3 separate regions of the Homo sapiens genome follow, and all the other regions are linked to region 2. Evidence: promoter capture Hi-C in 16 types of primary human blood cells and fetal thymus (Javierre and others, 2016). All regions are on one chromosome and are shown on one strand. The core of a region is centred on a gene start or on the middle of the fragment in contact, and the rest is flanking DNA. Distances in the headings are between cores, read along the strand shown.

What was found. Contacts are between HindIII fragments. The CHiCAGO score rates a contact against its expected background, and 5 or more counts as called.
Region 1: a contact is called between a fragment that was not itself captured here and the fragment with the promoter of C8orf48 in region 2, in 1 of 17 cell types (endothelial precursors). The highest score is 5.2, in endothelial precursors.
Region 3: a fragment that was not itself captured here is called in contact with the fragment with the promoter of C8orf48 in region 2 in 1 of 17 cell types (endothelial precursors); the score reaches 5.9 in endothelial precursors.

The regions. Positions count from the first base shown.
Region 1 is chr8:13,128,624-13,132,650 of GRCh38, forward strand. All of the region lies in intron 5 of DLC1 (DLC1 Rho GTPase activating protein), which reads right to left. Among named protein-coding and RNA genes, the nearest start is that of TRMT9B, 180 kb to the left of the region's middle. The HindIII fragment of the contact is 2,710 bases long and covers 244-2,953 here.
Region 2 is chr8:13,565,251-13,568,979 of GRCh38, forward strand. It overlaps C8orf48 (chromosome 8 open reading frame 48), which reads left to right and starts at 1,619. Exons shown (of 1, transcript NM_001007090.3): 1 at 1,619-3,038. The coding sequence starts at 1,742. The coding sequence ends at 2,701. It also overlaps a transcript of DLC1 not described here. The HindIII fragment of the contact is 14,151 bases long and covers 1-1,927 here.
Region 3 is chr8:13,275,404-13,279,625 of GRCh38, forward strand. All of the region lies in intron 5 of DLC1 (DLC1 Rho GTPase activating protein), which reads right to left. Among named protein-coding and RNA genes, the nearest start is that of DLC1, 240 kb to the right of the region's middle. The HindIII fragment of the contact is 993 bases long and covers 2,344-3,336 here.

The DNA of each region.
Region 1 (4,027 bases), core at 349-2,848, 440 kb before region 2:
AGATCCAGACCATCCTGGCTAACACGATGAAACCCTGTTTCTACTAAAAATACCAAAAAATTAGCTGGGCATTGTGGCGGCGCCTACTGTAGTCCCAGCTACTCGGGAGGCTGGGGCAGGAGAATGGCGTGAACCCGGGAGGCGGAGCTTGCAGTGAGCCAAGATTGCGCCACTGCACTCCAGCCTGGGCGACAGAGAGAGACTCCGTCTCAAAAAAAAAAAAGAGAAAAAAGAAAATATATAAGCTTAATGTGAAGGCTTTCTTCCTGTTCTCCATTAATTATGATGGCAAGGCAGAACATTAATTATGATGGCAAGTGAACAAAACGTTAAGACAGAGTAGACCTAATTAGAGGATCCCCAGGAGGACTCCGCAGTTCTTATCACTGATCATGGTAATCCCTAATAACACAAGGTCCCACAGAAGGAAAAGGGCCAGAGGACAGAAGGAGCCCTTCTCAGCTGGGAATCTAAACCCTTTTACATTAACTGGATCTCTAACTAATTTGAAGCTGAAAGAAAACACCGCTGATGGCGCTCATTCAACGCAGTAACTCATTCCTATAAAACATACTTCAACCCTACAGCACTGTCTTCCTTCAAAGAGGAACAGCCTTCACCTCCCTCTGCATTCATCCATATGCAAAGGCCACAGAGTCAGAAATAGAGACAGTTGTGAAAGTGCTCCAGAAAAGCATGTTCCTTCTAATTTCATAGCCATGGAAAAGAGGATCTTGGAATTGTGCTTTCTAGGACACACTGGATATTTACACTCTATGGTTGGGCATTAGTTCACCCAGACTGCAACATGAAGGAACGTATTTTTTAGTGTCTTGAATGACGTACAGATTACTCCTTTGCATTAGAGCCCCACAGCTCCAAACTAAGAATTTCAGGAGCAGATCCTGATAAAATGAGCATTCTGAGAAAAGTCAGAGATACAACTGTCTAGACACTAAAGAAATTAGTTCTCTCCCACTAGATCCCAACTCATGTAATTCAAATCATTGGACTGTGCACACATTACAAATGAAAATCACCTTTCTCCCCAGGTCTGCTTTATAATCTCAAGAACAGGCTTGGCATGATGTGGGTCTGGATGCGAGTCACACCATGGGGCCAGGTTTTGCTATGATGTTGTAAAGCACTGAGAATTCGGTCTTTAATGATTTGGCAATAGCCAGGGAGGAAGGGGAAACATCTGAAGTTATTTTTACTTTTGTAAAAGTCTTCTGGCTATACAGGGTGAATGGTAGGGTGGATCAGGTATTGTCTGGAGTCTTTCAGGGTCTTTTATTTTTGCATGGCCTCATTTCCGTCTTCCTGTTGCTAGGAAGGAGAGTGAAGCATGAGAAACTTGTGTTGACAATACTGGACCATCCTGTCCAGCACAAGGCTCTCTTCCAAAAAGTCCGATCCATTTCACCCACTGTACTCTGGATGCCCCCACTCTTCTGGACCAAATCACCCTTCCCTGAATATTTTCCAATTGCATATTTACCCGCTTAAGTCATAAAAATACCACTCTGATTTAAACATTGCGTCATGGCTTAAAATCTCCATGGGGACACCAAGGGAAACCCAAGTACTTATTGCTGTATTTGAAACCACCTCTTGGAATCTCACCAAGCCTCTGATTGGAAGGCATCTCAACTGTGGCCTCCCATATCCCCTTTAAGTCCCATAATAGTTCTACAAATAAGAGTTTAAGTACTATATACATTTTTAAACTCACTTCACAGTAATAGCTTGTTGAATCACAACATGTCTTTCTACTGGTCTGGTATATTTTCCAGAAGCACCCAAACACCTCTTTTAATGTAGAAATGCTCTAAACTTTGCTTAGTCTTTGCTCTCTCAACTACAGTACAGAACAACAAAAAAACATGCAAACAAGGGCTTTAGGTTGAAGGGTAACCTGCCTTTCACCTTTACTCCAGAGCCCTAAGAAAATCCTTCAATCTTTCCAGTGCATTAAAATTTGAAACACTGCCTTCATAGTTAGCAATAGTTAATTGCTCATCTATTCACTGTTTAAGGAATGAGTGGTGTTTCTCATGAAATCTGCAATTGGGAAGTTATGACATAAGTCACCAAAACCACTTTTCTCACCCACTCCAGGGAAAGATTTAAGTTGGAAACTATTTATCCCCAGTCCCCTTTTTGAACTTCCAGGCTGTTTGGTGTCTGGTGCTACTCTGTGTAAATTAAAATAAAATAAGTATTTGTCAAAAGCAAACTTTTCAAAACAGCCAGGAGAGAAACTCAGTCTGCTGTGCTTCATTTTAAACTCTGAACAGTAGTACTAATGCAAAAAGTATGCATCTGCGCTCAGGCCACGCTGTAAATCTGGCATGCCACAAGAAATGTGAATACATGCAATCGCCAACATTTTCTCAGAAAATGTCTCAAAATAACTTTTGTGCACACATCTGCTAACCATTTGACACTGGTTCCCCAGGACTTTAGTTCTTCGATTAGAGGGGCTGCTGCCTTACAGGGCACCCCTCTGACCATCTGCTGCCGTCTGCAAGCCAAGATGGCAACTCCATTAATTCCACACTTACAGTCTGCAAATTATTTCCACCGAGGACCAGTCTGTAGTCCAGATGGATGGCGAATTAGTCAACCTCTTGGAGCTGCTGATAGATTTACATTCAGAGGGCTGCAGTCTGCTGGACTATTATTTTCCCTCATCCCTTCAGCAAACAGAATTTTGGAGGAAAAAAAAAATGTAATCTGAGACTCAGTATTCTGCCTTCTCCCGAGCTGCAATGTTTTTTCCAAATACATCATCAATGCCACCAGCCTAGGCTGCATTCCTCTATGTCACCAGTAATCGCCGAAACAACCTCTGAATCCTGAGAATGAATCCATTTGCTCATCCATATTGGGTGTAAAAAGACTCACTCAAAACAAGACTGGGGATGGGAAAAGGTGGGGAGTGGGACGAAGCTTTCTTTAAGTGCAGATTAATGACTGCAAGCAGGGGTTTCCTTCTGCGGTGATTAGCACACACTGGGTATTTATTGAACATCGGGAACAGGCAACCTGCTAATCACTTTACTTGCATGAGCTCATTTGATCCTCACAACCTCCCCGCGCGGAGGTAATACAGTTATCACCCCTTTGGTGCAGATGAAGGAGGCACAGCGAGGTCCTGTCACTGCCCAAGTTCGCCCAGCTAGCAGGCTGCTGACCAGGATGAGACCCCACCAGCCTGACCCCGTGTCCCCTCTCACTTTCCTCGCCCCAGGGGCTGTGCGCTGAAGGACGCTCGCGGACGCAGCAAACTACACGCAGCAGGGTGCTGCAGAGAGGAGGGGTGCACCTCCTTCGGAGGGATCAAAGGCTCGCCCCAGGACTCTGGAGGTGGGGACAGCGACATGGAGTGGGGGCAGGCTTCCAAGAAGCTGTCGCCTTGTTACGAAAATAGTCGGGTCGGGAGGCGAGCTTCCTTCCTCTCTCCGGCCCAGGAACTCGCTCCTCGGCCTCCTTGTCCGGGTCAAGGGGGTGGGCATCCCCAAGGGGGCATTTCAGGGACACGATTCAGCGACCCATCTCCGGGAAAAAAACCAAAACTGTGTGTGTGTGTGTGTGTGTGTGTGTGTGTGTGTGTTTCCTAGCAAGAAGCACGTTTGCAAGCCACGGGGCTTGCTAAACTACCCCAACACTCTCCAGGTACCTGCGGCCACCAAACCGAGACTTCCCTGGCCAGGTCTGAGTTAATTCCCAGCGCTTAAAGTATCTTACCCAAAAATGGTTGAAAAGGAAAACAAGTTTTTGGTGAACTTTCAGGCAGTGATGAAAAAAAAAAATTTCCAAGCGCCACTAGGGTCTAAAATGTTCCCAAACAGTAAACTCTCCCGGAGTTCACTTTGATTTTGGACTAAGCTGGTGAATGACAGGAGATCAGTACGAGCGCAGAGCAGTCCCCAGAGGAAAGGAAGGTAGAAGGCGGTGTCGCCGCGCCCCTCGAGCCAGAGCCGCGAGCCCCCGCCCGGCTCAAGGAGGAAAGTGAACCAGG
Region 2 (3,729 bases), core at 369-2,868:
ATAAAAAAGACAGATTACCCCAGACATTTGGCATGTTAGAAGACACAGATAGATTTTATTTTAAGTATAGCTCCCTTGTTCAATGTTATGGATAAGATATAGCTAAAACATGAATAGTGTGTAAATATGAATGTGTAAATATTCAGAGAATGAGGCAGAGATTTGAAATAATAAATAAGGAAAATATTGAGCCCTATTGGAAATTACTTGGAGTTACTCACAAATTACATGCCACCTCTTTTTTAAAGACTACCATTATATGATAAAATAAAATTTGGGTTGAATAAATGAAGTTGGAGTCTCCTTATCTTCAACAGGAAGCTGGCTCATATACTTGAGAGATGCTTTTTGAATATTTGACTTTCACTTTTTGCCAGAATGAACATTTGGGGAATATATCTGGCTAGACCTGAATAATACCCCCCAATCCCCAAGAAACACAGGAAGAAAGAGAGAGAGAGACAAAACTGAGAAAGAAGGGTGTCTAGGCTCTTAAAATTATCCTAGACATTGACTAAGTCCTAGACTCAAGAACTATTATAACCTAGGAAAAGTCCATCTCTAGAGTTAACATTTTATAATTTCTCACGATAATTAATAAAACTCTACTGTGTTTTTTAAATGAATCCATTAATAAAAAATATATCCTGTGTAATAGCCTAAGTTTGGGGATTCAGTTAGAAAAAAGGTTAGAGTTCCCTGAACTTATAGTACTTATTTCTCCAAATCCTCTGGACGTGTGTAAGGTAAGATTTATTTGTTCCATAGCCATTCACTCAACAGAGATTTCTTGAACACCTGCTATGTGTCTGCTGATTGCTGGGCTCATACTAGTCGGCAACACCGACATGATTTCTGCCTTCAGCCTTCATAATCAGATACTCATACAATCACATAGTTGGACACTATTTAAAAAAAAATGCTGGAAAGAGTTTAAGGCAGGGGTGGGTATTAAGCCCTTCCTGAGGAAATGGGACTCGGAGGAGGAGGATAAATTAACGATATTAAGAGTGAGGACGGGCGTGGATATGCTAGCCAGAGGGGACCTGTATGGACAAAAGGCCAGAGAAACTGATTTGGAAAATTAAGGTCCTCCCCCGCCCCTGCTCCCCACCCCCGACCCCGCCCAAACTTCGAGGTCCTCAGAATGCTGGAGCACAGAACACTACTTCTTACAGAATGGTTTCTGTATTTTGACTTTTCCCCAAAGACATGCTCTACAAGGAGGTGTCTCTTGGCTATAAACACTGCAGACAAGTTTTTGCTTGTGCATCTTGTCCAGCGCGTTTTGCTTGATTTTTAAATCTAGATGCATTTAGGCGGGCGTACACGTTCGGATTTGTCACAGGCCACCTAACTCTATTGGTCTCACACACGTGTGCCACCTGTCTGACCCCTGGGAAACAGAGTTTGCAAGGTTTTCCCGTTGACTACTCGACTTTAGCACCAAAGAGAAGCAGGAGTGCAGAAGACAGGGCAAAATCGCCAACCCGGCGCAAGCAGCGCAAGCGCAGTGGGCGCTGGGGAGCGCGGAGGAAAAGGCGGGACGCCGCATGGTGGCCAGTCACTGCGCATGAGCGGCCCGCGTTGCCAAGACAGCTGGGAAGGCGTCTCCCGGAAGACGACCTCCGCAGAGCTGATGGCATTGAGATCCATTCCCGGAGGGGTCAGCTCCTGACGGGTTCCTGAGCCAGTCTTAACCTGGGCAAAGGAGATGAGGAGCCGAGCCTGATGCATTGTGATGGCCATCTGCCCAGAATTGGCCCAAACGGACAAAAGTGCTCTTGCAAACCTTTCTGATGAGACTGAGACTTTGAAGAACTCTACTGATGAGGTACAGACTTCCAGCTCATTCAGCTCCTCTGGAGGACGGCAGTCCTCGCCCCTGACCTCTGGGAGCAAACTGGAGAGGGAAAAGCAGACTCCAAGCTTGGAACAAGGAGACACACAATCTGAGCTTTTGGACTATAAAAATTATGAAAAGAAGTTGAGTAAAAAATGGATCAACTACCTCAAGCTCAAAGACTCTAACTTTGAACGGCACCAACCAGACACCAAACTTCCAACAGAAATCACTCGGGTATCAGATGAAGAATTGAATGCCCTGCAGTCTTATTGCACCATGAAGATAAATTTGATTCATCGTAGAGGGGATTCTAAGAAGAAGACGAGCAGCAGACATAAAAAGCTGCATCTTGGATTGGATGTAGAGGCTTCAGAGAGAGATGCCTTTAGTTGTACTGTACCCGATGAACTTTTGAACAGAATCTACTTTAAAAACATGAGGACAACGCCAAAACAGGAGGCAGCAGCTAAGCAACACATATCTTATCAGTGTCCCTATTGTAACAGGAAAAGAGCGGAGCTGGCCCTGTCTGCCTTTCTGAAACAAAAGAAGACTTTACTGGAGTCATTTCTACTCCAAGAGAGAATAGATGAACATCTTCATACCAAAGACTTTCTCACCCGTATTGGAGAAGCACATCAAGACTTTCCCAGGCTTTCAGATGACCCCAGAATAATCTGGAAAAGACTGACTGAGAAAAGTCATATCAGATACTCTGGTTTTGAAAGATCAGAGACAGAGCAGAAGTTGCAGCGAGATGGAAATAGTGCTTGTCATTTACCATTTTCTCTGCCATTTCTCAAGCGACTTACTCTAATCAAACCAGAGCTGGTGATTGTTAATGATAATGTGTAATGTGGATAGATGTCTTTGTTGTGTATTTGAGTAATTACCATAATTTCTACAGGCACTTGGGAAACTAACTTAAGACTTTACTATGCTTCCTTCACAGATTTGAGGACTAAGAACTTTCACTTTTTTTTTCCTATTATAGAAGGCACTGTTGTAGTTGGAATAGTTATAAAAACTTTTACAAAATTCCAAGAGAACTATGTTGGTAGTTTGGGCCAGGATGTTGATGGTACAGAAGCAAAGTAGTATGGGGATGTAAGAGAAACTTAAAAAGTAATAACTGTCTTTGGCGATCAAATGGCTATGGGGAATTAATAAATAGTAGATGTTTGAAATGTTATTAAGGCTCTGACTTGTGCGCCCGGATGAATGATCATTAATTTCATTAAGACAGGAACACCAGAAGAGGACTATGTTTGATGGAACTGTTGAAGAGTATGATTATTTGGACATATAAGGTGCATTTGGGACATACACATTGACAGTTTGAAGAAACATTTGATTATTTGTTTTTGCGCTTCAGAGGAAAGGTATAGCCTAGAGGTGCAAAATAAATTGGGGTAGGACTGGGGGAAGGGTGGGGATCAATGGCATATAGCTGGAAGTTGAAGCCGTAGATTGTCAAGCGTTTTTGGAAATGAATAAGAAGAGAAGCAGGGTTGATACAAACTCTTGAGAAATGCCAATTAATGGCTAAGTAGAGAAAAATAAACCTGCAGAAAAGATTGTGAAAAAAGTTATCAAGTGGATCAAGGAAATCAGGAATGTATAGTGTCATAGATGCTAAGGAATGAATATTTAAAGAAGGATAGTTGTCTAACCACATCAATCAACAGAGAAGCCATGTAAAGATGATTTAGTCATGTATTGGGCACTGCTGACCTTAGCAAAAGCCATTTCACTTATACAAATGGGGCAGACAAAATAGATTGAGGAAAAATGTAAGTAAATAATGAATGGATATAGGGTACTCCTTGAAATATTTAGCTGTAAGGGGAAGAAGAAGTAAAGCTGGGGTTAGGTGTTGAGTT
Region 3 (4,222 bases), core at 1,590-4,089, 290 kb before region 2:
ACTGGATTGACCAAAGAGGTTAAGAAAACATAGTCTTTGACCCATCCATGTAGACGGCATAGGAACACAGACTTAGAGAGCAAACAAGAAGGCACCATAAACGCTATTGGGAAACCCTACCCTAATTCGGAGAGTTTTTTCATATCGTAGTGAGATGCTATTTTATCCCAACGCAAAAATCGGACAGAAGTCCCTATCTCCTCACTGGACCCCTGCAAACACAGTCTACCATTTGGTGGCTGTCACATGAGCCCTAGAGCACTTGAATTGCACCACTGTATTTGCTTTATTATATTTCAAACGCCTGCCTCTGGCATACATGACACCGTCTTGGAACCGAGAGTAGCTCCAGGCTGCCAGAGGAAATACCAGCAGGCTTTCACTGGGCAGCGCCCATCACTCCACTGACACACAGACCTGCCAGGCCCCTCTCCTGCACACACGCCAGGGCACCTCACACCTGATCAGCTTCAGCTCCAAAGCTGACCCGAGACAGCCCCGAGGATCTCAGGGCTTTTGCAGCAGTTGTTCATCACTACCGATTTCCTGACAGTCACAAGGACCTTGCTTCTCTTTTGAAGGTTAAAAAACCCCACAACTCTCATAATTCCTTATCTAGAAATAATCAGACCAGTAACCAGAGCGGCGTTACACAAAACAAACACACAAAAATCTCAACACTCCATCAAGGTTAAATACTAGAGAAAGGGAGACCGAACACACTGCCATGACAAGAATGAAACTTCAACCAGCTGATGAGATCATTCATGAACCAAGCTTATCACTGCGTCTTCGCAGTAAATTGTTTTCTTTTTAATACCCCTCACCCCCGGTCTCCAATCCCCCTCTGCCTCTCACCTGCCAGCCGTCTGTCTCTAGTGTTTTTCCAAATGACATCCAGGGCTCTGGCCGTGGAGTCCCTGATGTGATCGCTAAAGGACCTCCGGAGAGGGGCTCGCAGGGGGCGCGCCATCACGTGGGCCTTGGGGTCCCCCATCCGCTCGCAGACGCCTTCAGCGCAGCCCGGGCGCCGCGACCATGCCTCGGTACTCCGCCCCGCGCTGTGCTCCCGGCCGCAGGCTGTCGCCTGCCTTCAGGAGGCCGGCATTGCGGCTGGCACTGCGGCCCCGGGAAGCGCCAACTGCAGGCGGCCTCCTGGCCCGCGGCCAAGCGCGCGCGGCGGCCACATCTGGAAAGACTTACCCTGCGCCGGCGACACCCTCGCGGGGCGCGCGAGCTGCAGCACAGCTATCCGGAGGCGTCTCGCTTCCTGTGCAACCCAATGACTCACCTGGGTCCGCGCCGGGCTGCTCCTGGGTCACATAGCAGGTCTTCCCTTCAGGGGCAGTCCAGGTGACCTCGCGTTTTCAAAGGGAAACGCAGCGCCGCAGGCAAGCACGCAGGGGAGGTGGGAGGGTGGGGCTGGCAGGTGGCCTTGTCTTTAACTTTCAAGGTTGATTCTCAAGAACGTTTGCATTTTAGTGACTCATTTTTATCTCATTAACTCATGGTTTTAGATTAGGCGGTTGATGAGATAGGAAGTTCAACCTTTAGTTGTGGTTGTGGGAAGGAAGATATGGCTGGAAGGAGCACTTTACAGATCAATCTGGATTCCCTCTAAGAAATGGAGACCTGAGAGGCCAGCACTGTGGCTCACGCCTGTTCCCAGCACCTGGAAAGGCTGAGGCTGGAGGATCACTTGAGGCCAGGAGCTTGAGAACAGCTTGGGCAACAAACAAGACCCCACCCCTACAAGAAATTAGGCGGGTGTGGTGGCATGCACCTGTGGTCCCAGCTGCTTGGGAGGCTGAGAGGGAAAAATCGCTTGAGCCCAGGAGTTCCAGGCTGCAGTGACCTGTGGTCACCCCCACTGCTCTCCAGCCTGGGGGACAGAGCAAGACCCTGTCTCTAAAATAAATAAAATAAGGAAATGGACACCTGAGTTTTAAACAAAATACTGATCAGCTCCTCACATTTTCTCTCTAACCATACTTCTACTTACAGTGGTTTAATCAAGTCACTCTAGGTTTTGCCCCTTAAAAAGTTTCAAATATCCCCTGATTTTATGAATCTTCTAGTTCCAAGTAAGTGAACTTCCTCATTACAATTGCACATCAAAAACTCATCCCCCAAAATGTAAAAAAAGTTCCAAGCACTATGAAATCAAAATATGAGCCAACTGCTTCTTTTACAAGATATGCGCCTTAGTTTCTAAAATGCCAAATAAATCTATTTCTACGCCAATAAATTTGGCAGATTTTTTGCCTTTTAAATGCATTATTAATCCTCTTTTTTTTTCTGTCTAGCAAATCTTACCTTATAATGCACAAGGTTTGGCAGGGAAGCTTAATATTGGCATAAGACATCTAAAGGCCAGTTCATAACCTTTGCAAGATGAGATAATGTTGTAAAAACACTTTGTAAATTTCAAGAAGCCATGCAAATGCTAATTATTACCATAATTATTTTTACACACAAAGTCATTTTCAACCCACACTGATCTCCTGAGTCTTCTAATTTCTACAACACGCATTATTTTCACATATATCTTTAACAACTTAATTATACAAAGGATGATTATGAAAATAGTGAGATTGTGCTCATGAATTATAACTAACATTAGTACCAATGCTTATTAATAACCCGTATGTCCTAAACTGTATTGTTCCCAAACTGTTAAAGCTCATGAATGTCCCCCATTGAGCATGTACTTCATGGTAGATATCCACGTCTTTGCCTTATCATTGGACTGGACACAGATTAGGAGAGAATGCATGCTAACTGCTGATGTAGACAGACCTCCGTGCCTGCACGGGCCAATTCCAAATGAAAATCCTCTATTAAAGATTTTCAGAAAATATGATTGCCTAATGCCTGGTTCCATTCTAAAACAATGTCCCCAGAGTTTGTGTGTGTTTCTCCTTCAAAGAGGTCTGGGCACCTTGAAGCGTGTTGAATCATGTCATCTGGACCTGTTTTGCAGAGGAATGGCATGAAGTACCCATGGCATGGGTAGTGCCCTTCACCAGATGCTGTTTTAGGCCTGCGGAACTTTAGGATGAATAAGACCTCAACTCTGTCTTCGAGGAGGAAATATCACATCGACCAAAAGTGATTCCAAAATAATGTGATAAGTTTCAAGGTAGAAGCATGTTCCAATGTTACAGGAACACAAAGGAAAATGCAGCCTGGATTCCTAACTCCTCCTAGGCACTGATCTCACCTGAGTTTCCAGTCTAGATCTATGATAAAGTTAGGGACACACAGTCACTCCCAGCATGAATATCAACAGCTGATTGTCTGAGTCGTGCAAAGTGACTGACTATAATGGTAGGAAGCTTTTCTACACCTAAACACAGAAAGGAAGGGGAGCAGTAAAGGGAAATAAGCATTCATTAAGTCCCTATAATGTATGATAAAGTCGTCTAGTGTTGTATATAGACTAGCAAGTCATCAGAGATCATGTATAGGTATTATTATCACTTTTTTAGAGATGAGGAAACTTGAAGCTTAGAAAGAAAAAATTCGAAAAGCTTACATAGTAAGTGGCAGATCCAGGATTCATACTCGGAGCCGTCTGCCTCAAAAACTCATTAGCTTCCTAATCAACTTGGTTGGTCTTAAATTAATGACCATAGTAACGACAGTGACCCATTAGTGTTATCTAGGCTCAGTCGATACTAAGCTATGAGCTAATGCTCTTTAATCTTAGCCAAAATAAAATAACGAACAGGACCTAGGGTGTGGCAGAATCCTGAGTCTGCAGATAGATTTGAGGTGATCCCGACTATGGAAATTAAAGGCAATGAGCCAAGAGAACCAAGGTCTGGTTCAACACACACTGTTTAACAGTAGAGCACTCAGGTCTAATCACCAAAGTGTTATAAAACAACCCTCCTCCTCTTAGCAACACACTTTCTCTAGGACAATACTTAACAGTTCTTCAGTGAAGCTCATTTCAGTAGGTGTTAGAAACACCTGCCTATTCCTAGTGCAGGTTGCATTAGGTAGAATGACCCACAGACTTCACCTACTTAAGAGGACTTTATGTTTTGTTTGTCTTTTTCAAAGGAAACCTCATGGCATAAATGTAAATTTTCTTGGCAGAGTATTTCAGGAGGGGAAGTGCAGCTAAGCATTTTTGAGCAAGGCAAACTTTAATTATAGGTTTTACCATAGGCCAACGTAGAGCTGACAATTTGGCCTCTCATTTCTGACAACT